Regions from separate parts of the Homo sapiens genome. Here regions 1 and 2 are each linked to region 3. The links are contacts of gene promoters, found by promoter capture Hi-C in blood cells and fetal thymus (Javierre and others, 2016). All regions are on one chromosome and are shown on one strand. The core of a region is centred on a gene start or on the middle of the fragment in contact, and the rest is flanking DNA. Distances in the headings are between cores, read along the strand shown.

The links. The method cuts DNA at HindIII sites, captures the fragments that hold promoters and counts their contacts. A CHiCAGO score of 5 or more calls a contact.
Region 1: a fragment that was not itself captured here is called in contact with the fragment with the promoter of TTLL11 in region 3 in 1 of 17 cell types (endothelial precursors); the score reaches 6.5 in endothelial precursors.
Region 2: a fragment that was not itself captured here is called in contact with the fragment with the promoter of TTLL11 in region 3 in 2 of 17 cell types (endothelial precursors and M1 macrophages); the score reaches 9.0 in endothelial precursors.

The regions. Positions count from the first base shown.
Region 1 is chr9:122,423,038-122,427,847 of GRCh38, reverse strand. No RefSeq gene overlaps it. Among named protein-coding and RNA genes, the nearest start is that of OR1J1, 52 kb to the left of the region's middle. The HindIII fragment of the contact is 849 bases long and covers 1,080-1,928 here.
Region 2 is chr9:122,442,607-122,447,321 of GRCh38, reverse strand. No RefSeq gene overlaps it. Among named protein-coding and RNA genes, the nearest start is that of OR1J1, 33 kb to the left of the region's middle. The HindIII fragment of the contact is 2,196 bases long and covers 980-3,175 here.
Region 3 is chr9:122,091,131-122,095,956 of GRCh38, reverse strand. TTLL11 (tubulin tyrosine ligase like 11) reads left to right here and starts at 2,649. Exons shown (of 9, transcript NM_001139442.2): 1 at 2,649-3,270. The coding sequence starts at 2,809. It overlaps LOC124902263 (a long non-coding RNA gene), which reads right to left and starts at 1,825. Exons shown (of 2, transcript XR_007061757.1): 1 at 1,785-1,825; 2 at 557-783. LOC124902262 (a long non-coding RNA gene) reads right to left here. Exons shown (of 3, transcript XR_007061755.1): 3 at 4,678-4,826. RefSeq lists enhancers at 2,469-2,658, 2,408-3,121 and a silencer at 3,009-3,058. The HindIII fragment of the contact is 9,416 bases long and covers 1-4,826 here.

The sequences.
Region 1 (4,810 bases), core at 255-2,754, 330 kb before region 3:
TGATCCACAGACTAACACTTGAGATGCCTTGGTGTAGAATACACTGGAATCTGGGAGTTCATTCAAAAGTTACGTAGTTTAAGGTTAAGATTTTATTTGGGTCCTGGAACACGTTCGGTGGGTGCTGTCTCAGCTCACCTGGAAGCAGATGTCTGATGGCCTTATTTCTAGGCACAAGTCCTCATTAGTCTCCTCAGCTTTATAAAGATAATAATAATATCATTTATTGAACACTTACTATACTCTTGTTATTGTGTTACATACTTTACTTGTGTAAACATATTTAATCCCAACGACAACCCTACAAGACAGATACTGATGTTATTCACATTTTATAGATGAGAACCTGGAGACTTGGTGAAATTTTTAACTTGTTTATTACTGCACAGTTAGTTGAGTTATGGAGTTAGAATCTGAAACATCTGTCTGACTGAAAGCCCTGCACTAAATACTAGTGTGTTGTTTGATTGCCAACTCTAAATAGGATTCACCTCTACTTGATTGATAATAGACACCAGCCGCAGCTTAGGTATCAACGAGGGACTATTAGTTGGTGGTCACTGATACTCAGTGTTTACCAAAAGTTTAACTAAAAGAAAATATATTTAGGGAAGCTTGCTCAAAGGACATGCAGGTCATCCATACCTACCTGCAAGACTAAAATCCAATATGTTGTCCACCCAAACCACTGGAAATCTGAGCACCTAGACAGCATTCTTTTTGCCTCTGAGCTATTGTTTACTGTGAATTTTTACACCCCAATTTGATTGCCAAAGCCTACATTAAGACGGATTAAAAGAAACCCCATGCAATGTGTCTGTTCTTAGAACCGCAGATGATATAATTTCACCTAATCAAGTGGTTTATTTTTACTTTTGGTCCCAGTGAACTGTGTGACTGACCAGAAAGCCTGAGCCAAATCTGAGGCCCACCCATAACAACAGTCATCATAATCTGCATTTTCAGAGTCATTCCTGGCTCAATTTTATGTCTCCACCCTTGTTTATCCCCCCTTTTGTTCTTTTTCTAACCTCATTTTCCATTTATCTTATCTTGTATTTTATACGTATTTCCAAGCTTCCTTAAATTCTTCAGGAATAAGACTTGGCATAAATATAAATAAATTTGAGGAAATCTACCAAAATGTAGAAACAGTGGTTACCTCTGGATAGCAAAAGTATAGATTTTTTTAAATCTGCATCTTCATAAAGGATCTCATGCCCTGACCATAAACATTCTTTCTTTTATAAGTATGAAGACATATTTCTAATTACAGATAAACTGTAAAATTCTAATTTTTTGTTATGAATATTGGTAAAAATGTAGTCCATTAATAGAGACTGAAGGTAAAGACGGTGATATTCATCAGGAGAGAGACTATATAGTTGATTTGATGTATCAAATTGGCTGAGCCATGGTAACAAGGTGTTTGGTCAAACATTATTCTATGTGTTTCTGTGAAAGTGTTTTTTTGGCAATTCCTGACCTACTGGTTCAATGAAATCTCAATCAAAATTCTATTGGGCTCTTTTGTAAGTTGAAAATTTTAAAATAAAATTTATATGGAAATGGCAAAAAACCTAGAAGAACCTAAATAACTTTGGGGGAGGAAAGAAGACCCACACCATGCAATTCAAGACTTACTAAGCTATAATAATCAAGACAGTGTACTTTTGGTTTTAAAGCTCAATCAAACAAGAGTTCAGAAATAGATCTACAGTTATATGGTCAATTGATTTTTGACAAAAATTCCAATGCAATAGAGAAAGGACAGTTTTTCAACAACTGATGCTGGAACAATTGGATATCCATATAAAAAAATCAATCCTTAACTCACACCATATATATAAATTAATTCAAAATGGATCATGGACTTAAATGTAAGAGCTAAAACTGTAAAACTTATAGAAGAAAACAAAAGAAAAGCTTTGTAACCTTGGATTAGGCAAATAATTTTCACATAAGAAACAAAAAGCAAAAACCATAATAGAAAAAAACTGCTAAATTCAGCATCATCAAAATTTTAAACTTCTGCTGTTTGAAAGATACTGTTAAGAGAATGTAAAGACAAGCCACAGGCTGGGAGAAAATGTTTGCAAAACACATACCTAATAAAGACTTTATCTAGAAAAAAGAACTCTCACAATCAATTATAAGACAAATAGCTCAAATAGTGGGCAAAGGATCTGAACAGACACTTAATCAAAGAAGATATACAGATGGCAAATAAGCACATGAAAAGATGCTTGACACCACTGGTCATTAGGGAAATGCAAATCAAAACCACAATGAAATACCACTACACATCACTAAAATGGCTAATACCAAGCTCTGGTGAGAGAAGCACCTGGAAATTGTATCCATTGCAAAATGGAGCAGCCCTTTTTGAAAACAGTTTAGCAGTTTCTTTAAAAGTTTAACACATACCTACCATACAACCCAGCAATCCTATCCCTAGGTATTTACCCAAAAGACAAGGAACCATATGTTCACACAAAGAACTGTATGCCAATGTTTAGAGCAGCTTTATTCACAGTAGCCAAACAGTGGAGACAGTCCACCAATGATGAATGGATAACCAAATTGTGGTACATCCATATGCAGCAATAAAAATGAACGAATTACTTATATGTGCAACAACTTGGAAGAATCTCAAAAAAAGTATGCAAAATCAAAGAAGCTGGACCAAAAAAAGGCTACATCTTATATCATTCTAATTGTATGACATTCAGGAAAAGGAAGCAGGAAATCAGATCACCGTTTGCCTGGGGCTAGGAGTGGCAGAAGGATAGTGACTACCAATGGGTAGGAGAGAACTTTTGTGGCAATAAGAATATTGTGTATCTTCATTGTAGTTGTTACATAACGGCATACTGTTGTCAAAACTCATCAAATGGAATACTTCCTATGAATAAATGCTATTGTTCATAAATTATGCTTTAGAAAACTTAATTTTAGAAAAAACACTTTGTAGAAAATAAAAGTTATATTTTAGAACTTAGGCTATGGAAAGATTTTCTAAATAAGATCAAAATGTAGCAAAAACAAAATATTGATAAAGTTGGCTCACATTAAAGCCAAAATCTTTGCAATAATCTGACTACAAGACTATGTGAACTGGTCCTGTGGCCATTCTGACCTCAGCTCCTGCCCCTCTTTATTCATTCAGCCCAGTCCAGCCATACTGGTCTGTTATTCCTTAAATACATCAGGTGCACTACTACCTCAGTGCTCTCACCAATCTCATTCTATAATGTTATGCCTCCTTCAACACAGAGGATATCACTGAGGTTGACTATGGCCATGCAAGACCCATCTCCCCCAACTTGGTCCCTCAATTCTAGGTGTCATTCCCAATCAGACCCAGGTAGGTCCTACTTTTTGGACTTGGAAGGGGGGCAGACGAGCCTGAGAGAGAAGTGCCTGTTTCTCCAGTATTCTGAATTGGTGACAGCCAAAGGCCGTGTTTCCAATGAAGATACTGATCCATGGAGAGACTACGCTTAATTTTTAATTACTGCTCCCTTAGAAGAAGACAAACTTTTAACCACATATGCCACTTAATTAAACCACAGAGATCTTCTCTGCATGGCTAATTACTATTGAAGCAGATGAGCCAGGAGATTCTCAAATGAAGTTTCTCTGGGGCCTCGTTAACAAGAATGGAGCACACCCCACAGAGGCAGCTACATGCGCACTGAAACTTTTCTGATATTTTACACTCAAAGCCTCCTAGCTTCCTCAAGAGGTTCTGATCACCAACCAATACCATTATCAAAAGCATCTTCCCAGCTGGACCCTGCCTAACTCCCTAGCCTCATTTCTCTTCATGATCTATCATTCTCTCTATTCCCAGAAATAACAAATAGGTTTCATCTCTTACCCTGCCACTATTTAACTAAGAGTAGCTGCCTGGAGTGCTAAGTTGAGAATGATTCAAAGGTTCAAATCAATCCCCATGAGAAATAATGCTCTGTGATAGATTAACAATGTCTGCCATGAATGTGGAATGGGGAGATTGTAGTGTGAAAGCTATATATTCTCCATCTCTGCCCTATACCAAATCCTGAACCATGCTGCATTCCCAGACCACTTAACACTTCTTCACACCTCTATGTTTTTGTAGGTTATTGCAATATCATTCCTTCTCTTCACTCAGTCAATGCCTAGTTGGCTATCCTTCAAGGCCTAACTTCCCTATAGCTTTCTCTGAGCATCCTTCCTTATCCTTGGGTTCAAGTGGGATTAATAATTTTCTCCATTGTACTTTTAACATCAGATTATTGTTGCAATTATTGCACTTATCTAAGTTATTGGGGTGCTGTGCAAGAATAACTTCTAGAGAGAAGTTCTTGGTGAATGCTATGAGAAGACACAAGAGACTGGTAACGACTCTCTGGTGGGAAAAGGAAAACAAAAAGAATAGAGGTATTTATAGCAAGAAATAGACAAAAGATAGAACCTCTAAGGATAGAGAATGAGAGGCCCTCCTCCTTAAAGTTACTGTGACGGTTAGCTACATAATAGTCCACGATATTGAAAGCAGAGTGGGGAATTGATGAAGAAAGCATAACCTGGGTGAATCATATATCATCAGAAGTCCTATACTAAAAAAAACTACTAAAGAAAGAAAGAAAATGATCACAGGTGAAAGTACAAAATGCAAGCAGTGCAGTGCAATGGAAAGAAAAATAATGTGAATAATCTAAAAGAATATTGCTTACTAAAAGCAATAGTAAGGATGTCTTGTGAGGTTTAAAATGTGTGTTGTATTAAAATGCATCAAAACTCTAACTCAAAAGGCAGGAGT
Region 2 (4,715 bases), core at 828-3,327, 350 kb before region 3:
CAGAGGCATTCTCTCTTACAGACTGAGAGGTTTTAAGGGTTCAAGGCAGAAGAGCTTATCACGGGCTTGGAATGTTTGTCTGTCTTGCTTATCTGGGAGGGAGGGTTTTTGTGTCTGTTCCCACACATCTTCCTGCAGCTGCAGGCATACCCCCTGAGTCTGCTTTTAGCTTCCCTATCTTCGTGCACCTAAAGGGAAAGGAATGTACTTATTAGGACCCACTGTTTTACTGGGGCCCATTGTGAGTGTGAAGTTTGGTGGTTACCCAAGAGACTTTCCCCCTCTCTCTGTGCCCAAGCTGTCTTATCTGTGTTTTACCGTCTGCTCTTTCTGGCTGCTTATTGTTAGAAGATAAGTGATTTCCTTGAAATGCATGAGGTTAGAAAGGGAGCTGGAACTTAAAGTGGAGCTGTTTGTCCAAGATAACAGTACTCCTGCTCTGTCAGAGGCCAGTAACTGGAAGGAGCTGGAGGGCCACTATTGCAACTAAAACTGGAACAATTCTTAGAGTTTCCCCAATAGATAAATCATGTAAAACTATTCTTACTACATGCTGAAAATTCAGCACTTAAAGAGCCCCCGACATTGTCAATATCCCGAGAATCCAAAGAACCTGATAGAATTTGTAAACCAACATAACTCTAATCTACCTTCATCACTTGTCCCTGGACTAGCATAAATACACACACACACACACGCACACACACACAACCAAGCCACACTATTCCATTACCTGAAAACTATTGTCCCCCAATATTAAGCTATCCCATACCAAAAGACAAAATAGCATTTCACTTTTATAGACATCCCTCATATTCCAAAATACTCACTCCTGTTCCTCAACCTGAGTTACCTACAAATGGGGAAGCTGAGTCACACCTCTGAGATATGACCATGAAAGCTCTGGGAATATTCTCAGTACTAGGGAAGAGGCAATGACATGCTCCATCTCCTTGGGCTGTCCTTTGCTTGCTAAGCTTGGAAAAGGTTGACCAGGCATGATGGCTCACGCCTGTAATCCCAGCAATTTGGGAGACCAAGGCGGGTGGATCATTTGAGCCCAAAAGTTTGAGACCAGCCTAGGCAACATGGCAAAACCCTGTCTGTACCAAAAAAAAATGCAAAAATTAGCCAAGTGTGGTGGCACATGTCTGTAGTTACAGCTACTCAGGAGGCTGAGGTGAGAGGCTCACTTGAGTCCAGGAGGCAGAGGTTGCAGTGAGCGGAGATCACTTCACTGCACTCCAGCCTGGGTGACAGAGCCAGACTCTATCTCAGAGAAAAAAAAAAGAAACAAACAAAACAAAACAAAACAAATTGGAGAAGTCATAGAGCAGAGTTCCCTGAGGGAAGAGCTGGGAGAGAGACTACCCTGTTCCCTTGGAGCACAAAGGGCCCTAAGGAGGCCTGGCAAAGGAAGGTTAAAGCATTACAGTTGGGACAGGGTCTCCAGACCACACAGGTCCTCACTCAGTGGTTCTGGGTCACTCTGTCTGCTAGGATGGGAAGTTAGGATGGTGCTGGGGACCAGAGGTGGGGAATGAGTCAGGGATCTGAAGCAGTATCAGGAAAACCTATGACCACTGTCACTCTGCTTCCCTCTTCTTGTATCCTTGTTCTCCCCTAGGGAGTTAATGAGTGGGAAATGTCAGGTGGCTGGAGCCTTCAGCTGAAGTGTGGTTTCTGAATAAATTTGCAGACACAGTGTGGAAAAGGCTTCTGCTTCTGGACAGTGGAAATAAAACATCTGGACACAGGAGGCGCCATGACTAAATAGCCCCGTCTATCATGTATGCCTTCCTCACTGCCCTCCATGGGAGAATGGTGGGTTCCAAAATGTCCATGAGTCAAACATGGGCAAAAAATCACTCTGAGTGTTTTGATAAGACCCCAGTGAATCAGGAAAGGCTTATTCATGTGTTATTGTCCAAATGAACCCAATGAAATCAAGCACTATCCATGTGTACAGAAAGGAATGAGGGGTCACTATGACTAAACCTCTGATTTTTACATGTTTGGTTAATCTAAGTGCAGACCAGGCAGGCTTCCAAGATTTAGCTATGACTGGTTACTTTACTAAAATATTTTCTCTTCCTCATAGTATAAATACTAACATTTGGGGATGGGGATGTTGACCACCTGCTGGGCATTGTGCTTTAACATGCTTTTGTTCAGCAAATCTTCTCAACTTTGAGATAGGTACTCCCATTGTCCCCACTTCACAGATGGAGAAACCGTGTCACAGAGAGGTTAGGTGACTTGCCCTAGATCACTTGCCTGATAAGAGGCAGGACCATATACCTAAAAAGTGGACCAGCACCCATTCTCTTAACCTCCATGCACATGACCTCTATTACAGGCAAACCATTTACTCTTTTCATGGAGAAGCCAAGAAGTCCAGGTACCAGTCTTGACTAACAATAAAAATGTCAGGATAATTAAGGTTCTTCCTCCCATCATGCTCCAATTTCTCCCTTCTTTAAAATGATCCTAATGGATCTCTAGGAATTTCTCCAACTCAGAGTCCCTAGGAGTCTGTTTTAAAGTTGAAGCTGTAAGAGACCAAGAGGCACCTTCAAGGAGAGGGGTTCCCGCCATTCTGGTTGGTCTCTGTCCCATCTGTAGTGACTTAAATGGAATGCTGCTCTTTAGATAGTGGCTTGAGGTCTGTTGCATTTCTTCTTTACATCTGTTCATAATTATAAATGTCCATCTAAGCATTATTTCATCTCGAAAATATTTATCAAGGGACCATTGTGTCCCAGGCACCATGCCAGGTGGGATGGGGTAACAAGGAACCAGACACAGTTCTTGTATTCAGGCAGCTCACAGTCTAGTGGGGAAGACAGTGTTGTAAGTACTGATTTAGTTCCAGGTCGTGTGTGTGAGAGGGTTGCCTATCGTGGAGGAACATCAGGAAGGCTTCCAAAAGGATGCAATATCTAATCTGAGGCAAAGGGTGAGGACTAATCACCAGGGCTAACAGAGAGAGGGAACGGGCATTTTCAGGCAGATGGAATAGTAAGTCCCTAAGGCAAGAAGCAGCAAGAAATATTTTACAATGGGCACATGGAATGCAAGAAGTCAGGGAGAAAGGCAAAAGATGGAGCAGAGCCCAGCAGGAGCCCATCATGGGAAGGAGATTAGCTTTAAGTCTGCAGGCCATGGAGAAGCTTGTGCAGCACAAACATCACTGTTATGGCTGAATTGTGCCCCTTCCAAAAAAAATATGTTGGAGTCCTAACCCCTAGTACCTCAGAATGTGGCATTATTTGGAGATGGGCCCTTTAGAGAGATAATCAAGTTAAGATAAGGTCATGAGGGTGGGTCATAATCCAACACGACTGGTGTCCTTATAAAGAGGAGAAGTTTGAATACAGAAACAGAAACACATGTGCATAAAGGAAGGCAATATGAAGAGACACAGAGAGAAGACAGCTATCTACAAGCCAGAGAGAAAGGTTCAGAACAGATCCTTCCATCACAGCCCTCAGAAGGAACCAATCCTGACAACACCTCAATTTCGGACTTCCAGCCTCCAGAACTGTGAGACAATACAAATACACTTCTGTTGTTTAAGCCATTCTGTTTGTGGTACTTTGTTACTGCAGCCCTATCAAGATAATACAATGATGTATTCAAACTTGCATTTTATAAAAACTGATTTGCCTACAATGTAGAGAATGGATTGAAAGGGGGCCGTCATCTCTGCAAGGAGCCTGGTTTGGAGACAAGACATGATAAAGGTCTCCATAAGGGCAGGAAGAGCTGACATGGAGAGAGGTGAACAGACTGAGAGACGTGGGAGAGGCAGAATCTCCAGGATGTGACCATAGGTTGGGTGTGGAAAATCAGGACTCAAGGGCCATGTCCAGTCCATGTTTGTAGCTCAGATAAACCTGTGACCAGAACACAGACTAGTCAACCACCTCATCAGGAATCTTAGACACAAGTTCTATACAAATAGGCAAGTCAGGAATACACTGCATAGTCACTACTTTCAGCTTTACACCCAGTTATTCTGGCTTTTGCCAGGAGGTGCCCCTAGCTTCAATGCCAGGTGTGACTTCATTTTTTCAACAAATATTTAGTGGCCACCCACGATGTGCCAGACATAGTACTAAGCTCCAGGAATATAGTGGTGAGGTAAAGGAAACAAGATCCCTGTGTATTAGGTCAAGGAGATGACAAATGTTAATCATATTAATTAATGAGTAATTATAAATCATCATACGAGTTATAGAGGAAGGGAACAGAATTCTATGAGTGCATATAACAGGGTGCCTTATTCCAGAAAAGTGATGGCTGAGATGACATCCAAAGGACAACAGACAAGTAGGAGAAGCATCCTGGAAGAGGACATCATGAGCCAATGTAGGTAGCCAAATTTATCCTTTGATAAATGCTGATTAGCTCTTCTTCCCATGCCTACTTTCCCCAGGGGCTTCATCTTGCTTCTTCAATGTGCCAGGCTCCTGCCTACATTGGCTCATTCATGGTGTCCTCATCCTGGATGCTTCTTCTACTTGTCTATTGCCCTTTGAAAATCAGCTCAGTCATCACTTTTGGGAAGTCATCAATGGGCTTTGGAATTCCTGAAACAGAGTAGGGACTCAATCAATATTTACTAAATGAAGAGAGGATTTGTGTGGGGTTGAATAGTGTTCCCCAAAAATTTATGCCCACCTTAAACCTCAGAATGTGACCTTATTTGA
Region 3 (4,826 bases), core at 1,400-3,899:
TATATATATATATATATATATATATATATATATATATATGTTTTTTTTTTTTTTTTTTTTTTTTTTTTGAGACCGAGTCTCACTCTGTCGCCCAGGCTGGAGTGCAGTGGCGCGATCTCGGCAAATTTCAAGCATGGATGACTGAATGAAGGTAGTGCCACTTGCTGAGATCAAGGACACCAGGAGGAGGGACAGGATTTGGGGGGTAGGTTTGTGGAGAGAAATGGGGGGACAGTGAGGCCTTCTTACTGATACCACGGACAGCTCCAAGAATTTCCAGAGGACTTGCATCAGACTCTATGAGTGGTTCTTGCCTCCGCTGCCTTAGAATCAGCGGAGGAGCTAATTTAACATGCAGATTCCCAGGTCCACCCAGATGTGCTGCATCACAGTCTCTGGGGGTGGGGTCCAGGAGCCTGCATTTTAAATAAACACCCCGGGTTGTTCCCATGCAAGTGGCCAGACGACCATGCTTACAGAAACTCTGAAACAAAGTCATGAAGGGAACAGATGCGAGCGCCCTCTGCTGCTAAAAAGGAGGTTTGGATCTCTTAAGTTTATGACTTGGACATTTCAAGGCAGTTTATTCAGCAAGTGAAACCCCTGGACTAAAGCAAAGAAACAAGACACCTGGAGAGATGAGAGAGGAAGAGGGGCCACGTTCCTTGACAACTTCTGTGTTTCTTTCACCCTGTAGTGTCGAGCGAGGCAAAGTTCCCCTGTGTGCAGTCGTGGCCGCTGTGGTCAGTCTGGGGTGCTGTTACACCTTCTCAACCCCACTTCCTAAAAAAACAAATGCGGCTCCCTCAGGTGGGAGGGGAGAGCTTTCTCCTTGGTTTGGCTTTAAAATGATGGCAACTCCCAAAAATGGAAAGCAGGGGCTCAAACAGGTATTTGTATACCAATGTTAACCGACATTCTTCACAATAGCCAAAAGGTGGAAACAACCTAAGTCCATTGACAGATGAATGGATAAAAACGAGGTGGTGTATGCACACGACGAAATATTTTTCAGTCTTAAAAATGAGTGAAATTTGGACTCATGCTACAACATGGAGAAACCTTGAGGACATTATGCTACGTGAAATAAGCCAGACAAATACTGTATGATTCCACTGACATGAGGAACCAGGAATAGTCAAATTCATAGTCAGAAAGTAGAAATGGTGGTTCCCAGGGACTAGGAGAGAAGGGAATCCCGACTTATTGTTTCATAGACACAAAGTTTCAGTTTGGTAAGATAAAAGAGTTCCGGAGACCCATAGTGGTGCTGGTTGCACAACAATGTGAGTATACAGAATGCCACTGAATTGTACACTAAAAATGGTTAAAATGGCAAATTTTGTTATATTTTACCACAACAAAAAAAGTGATATAAGTAAAAGCAGTCAGGCTGGACGTGGTGGCTCACGCTTGTAATCTCAGCACTTTGGGAGGCTGAGGCGGGTGGATCATCTGAGGTCGGGAGTTAGAGACCAGCCTGGCCAAGATGGTGAAACCCCGTCTATACTAAAAATACAAAAAATTAGCCGGGCATGGTGGCCGGCTCCTGCAATCCCAGCTACTCACAAGGCTGAGGCAGGAGAATTGCTTGAAGCCGGGAGGCGGAGGCTGCAATGAGCCGAGATCACACCATTGCATCCCAGCCTGGGCGACAAGAGCGAAACTCTGTAACAACATCAACAACAACAACAAAACAAAAACAAAAACAAAAAAGAAAACAAGAGACGCGGTGGTTCTGCTTGTAATCCTAGTACTTTGGGAGGCCGAGGCTGGCAGATTACCTGAGGTCAGGAGTTTGAGAACAGCCTCGGCAACATGGCGAAACCACGTTTCTACGAGAAACACAAAACTTAGCCGGGAGTGGTGGTACATTCGTGTAGTCTCAGCTACTCGGGAGGTTGGGGTGGGAGGATCCCTTGAGCTCTGGAAGTTGAGGCTGCTGCAGTGAGCCGGGATCGCGCCACTGCACTCCAGCCTGGGCGACAGAGAGAGACCCTGTCTAAAAAAAAAAAAAAAAAAGAAAAAAAGAAAAGAAAAAGAAAAAATCGTTAATATCCTCAACTCGAGTGGGAATCTATAGGGGGCTTACCCATGCCCATGACTTCCCCATCCCATCGGGAGCTCCCTGAGAACAGGGAAAAGTGCCTCCCCTCTTATCTGGGGGCGCTCAAAGGACCAGCAGAGGGTTTCTTCAGCGGAACACTCTCTGCTCCCCTAGGGCCTGGGCTGCTCACATCCATCGCACTGAGGAGGGTCCCATCCATTGCACTGAGGAGGGTCCCATCCATTGCACTGAGGAGGGTCCCACTGGGGGGCTCCTCCTCCGTCCTATCGAGAGTTATCCCAGCGAGTGTTGGCGGGGACTGAGCCTCCTGCTTGAGGTAGTTGTTTTTACTCCCAGTCCCCAGGCTCACGAGCCCCACGCGCGCTCAATCTGCCCTCCCGCTTCTCCTCGCCACTCCGAGTTCTGCGCCCTCGAGATCCAGCGCATCCGCGGGGTGGGCGGGTCCTGGCGGCTCTTTGCCCTCTTCCAACATGGCCGCCGCTGCCTCTGTGACAGGCAGGGTCACGTGGGCAGCCTCGCCTATGAGGTCGCTGGGGCTCGGCCGGCGATTGTCCCTTCCCGGACCCCGTCTCGATGCGGTGACTGCCGCTGTCAACCCGAGCCTGAGCGATCATGGCAACGGGCTCGGGCGGGGAACGCGTGGCAGCGGCTGCAGCGGCGGCAGTTTGGTGGCGGACTGGGGCGGCGGAGCGGCGGCGGCGGCGGCGGTGGCACTGGCACTGGCCCCGGCCCTGAGCACCATGCGGCGGGGCAGCTCCGAGAGCGAGCTGGCGGCCCGGTGGGAGGCGGAGGCGGTGGCTGCGGCCAAAGCGGCGGCCAAAGCTGAGGCCGAGGCCACAGCGGAGACGGTGGCGGAACAGGTCCGCGTGGACGCGGGCGCGGCCGGGGAACCGGAGTGCAAGGCAGGGGAGGAGCAGCCCAAGGTCCTGGCCCCGGCCCCGGCGCAGCCCAGTGCGGCTGAGGAGGGGAACACCCAGGTCCTTCAGCGGCCGCCGCCCACGCTGCCCCCGTCCAAGCCGAAGCCGGTGCAGGGCCTCTGCCCGCACGGGAAGCCCCGGGACAAGGGCCGAAGCTGCAAGCGGAGCTCGGGCCACGGTTCCGGCGAGAACGGCTCCCAGCGGCCGGTCACCGTGGACAGCTCCAAGGCCAGGACCTCCCTGGATGCCCTGAAGATCAGCATCCGCCAGCTCAAGTGGAAGGAGGTGAGGCCCGGCCCGACCCGGCCGCGTGGGCACAGTGGGGTGGACAGGACGACCTCAGAGGTCTCGGCACGGCCCAGGTCAGGTCGGCGGGCGAGGGCTGAGCTCCTGCGGTGCACCACGCTCGGGCCTGCTTGTCAGCCGCAAAGTGCTCATCCTTCAAGGCCTACCCCCCAAAATCACTTCCTCCAAGAGGGCCCCCCAGACCCCTCCAGGTCAAGTTAGCCACTCACTCCTCTGCCTCCCTGCAGCTCTTTTTATGTCTCAGCCATCAGCATTTGCCTCTGCTTGTAGATATGTGTACGTCTGTCTCCTCCACCAGCTTGTAAGCCCCTGGGGCCCCGGACCCGCTCTCTCACTTCTTCATTGAAGTTATATTTGTTTAGCACTTGCTGTGTGACTCTTGGGCAGAGGAACACTTTTTATTTTGGAGGCAGACAGGCCTAGGGTCTCACTACACTTTGCTACTTAGCTGTGTGACCTTGAGTAAGTTGCTTCACCTCTTCAGCCTATTACCTTCTCTGTAAAGTGAGGCCAATTATACTTATCTCATCATCTTGTTAGCATTAGAAGACTCACTACTTAGTGTTTTATAGCACAAGTCTGCAATAAATGGTAACTTACGTTACCACCTTCTCCTTTCTCTCTTCTTCCACCATCATCACCATCACCACCACCAGCACCACCACTGTCCTCATGATCAGTGGTATAAAATCAGGCACTGTATTTTATATTCCAGGCTTGGCTTACGGCATGTGTCAGTAAGCAGTGAATGAAAGGGTGAATGAATACATGAGTTATCATCCCTGAGCCCATTTTAGACTGGCAGGGGATGGAATGTAGCACCAGTGACTCTAGAGGTGTCTGTTGCAATTGGCTACGTGGATAAAGCCATTTGACTTTATTTGCAGCATATAAGGTATTTAATGTGCTTTCAGGAGTGTCAGGAGTTTGATTAAGGATAGCTGAGTGTGGACACAGCCAGTGGTAACAGGGATCTGCTGCGGGTAACAGAGGACTCAGGTTCTTAGCCCTGTGCCTTGGCTATGGTAGATGCTCGGTAATGGTTTCATTAAGTTGGAACATACAGAGAGATGGCCACAGAAAGGACTGATGTGGTCAGAGGGTTGATGTCCCAATAGGAAAAAGTGCATTTGGTTTGGAGGGAAGTCAAGGATCAGGCAGAACCGACTTCCAGGTGGATAGGGTGTAGCCGTTGGGGAAGTTTGACTCCAAGTGTCTGGGCCCCCAGCCTTGGGGCTTGGGATTCAGAGGGGAACTTTCATGCTGGGGAAACTTGGGGAAAACAAAGGCAGGCTCTCAGTTCTAAAGTATCTGGGTTTCTAGGCAGGGCCCCAGGTCCAGGCCAGAGATATGAGGGCTAGAAAAGGTACAACTGGACAACTTGTCAGTGCCGTGGTCTTAATGAAGGGAGAATCCAGCAAATAAAACCAGGCTATGGAGTCAGGCTAGGCAGATTGGCCCAAGTGGGGCCTCCACTTAGCTTATCCCTGTGGGAGAGAGAGACATAAAGCAGGCCAGATCTCGTTTGCTCGGAG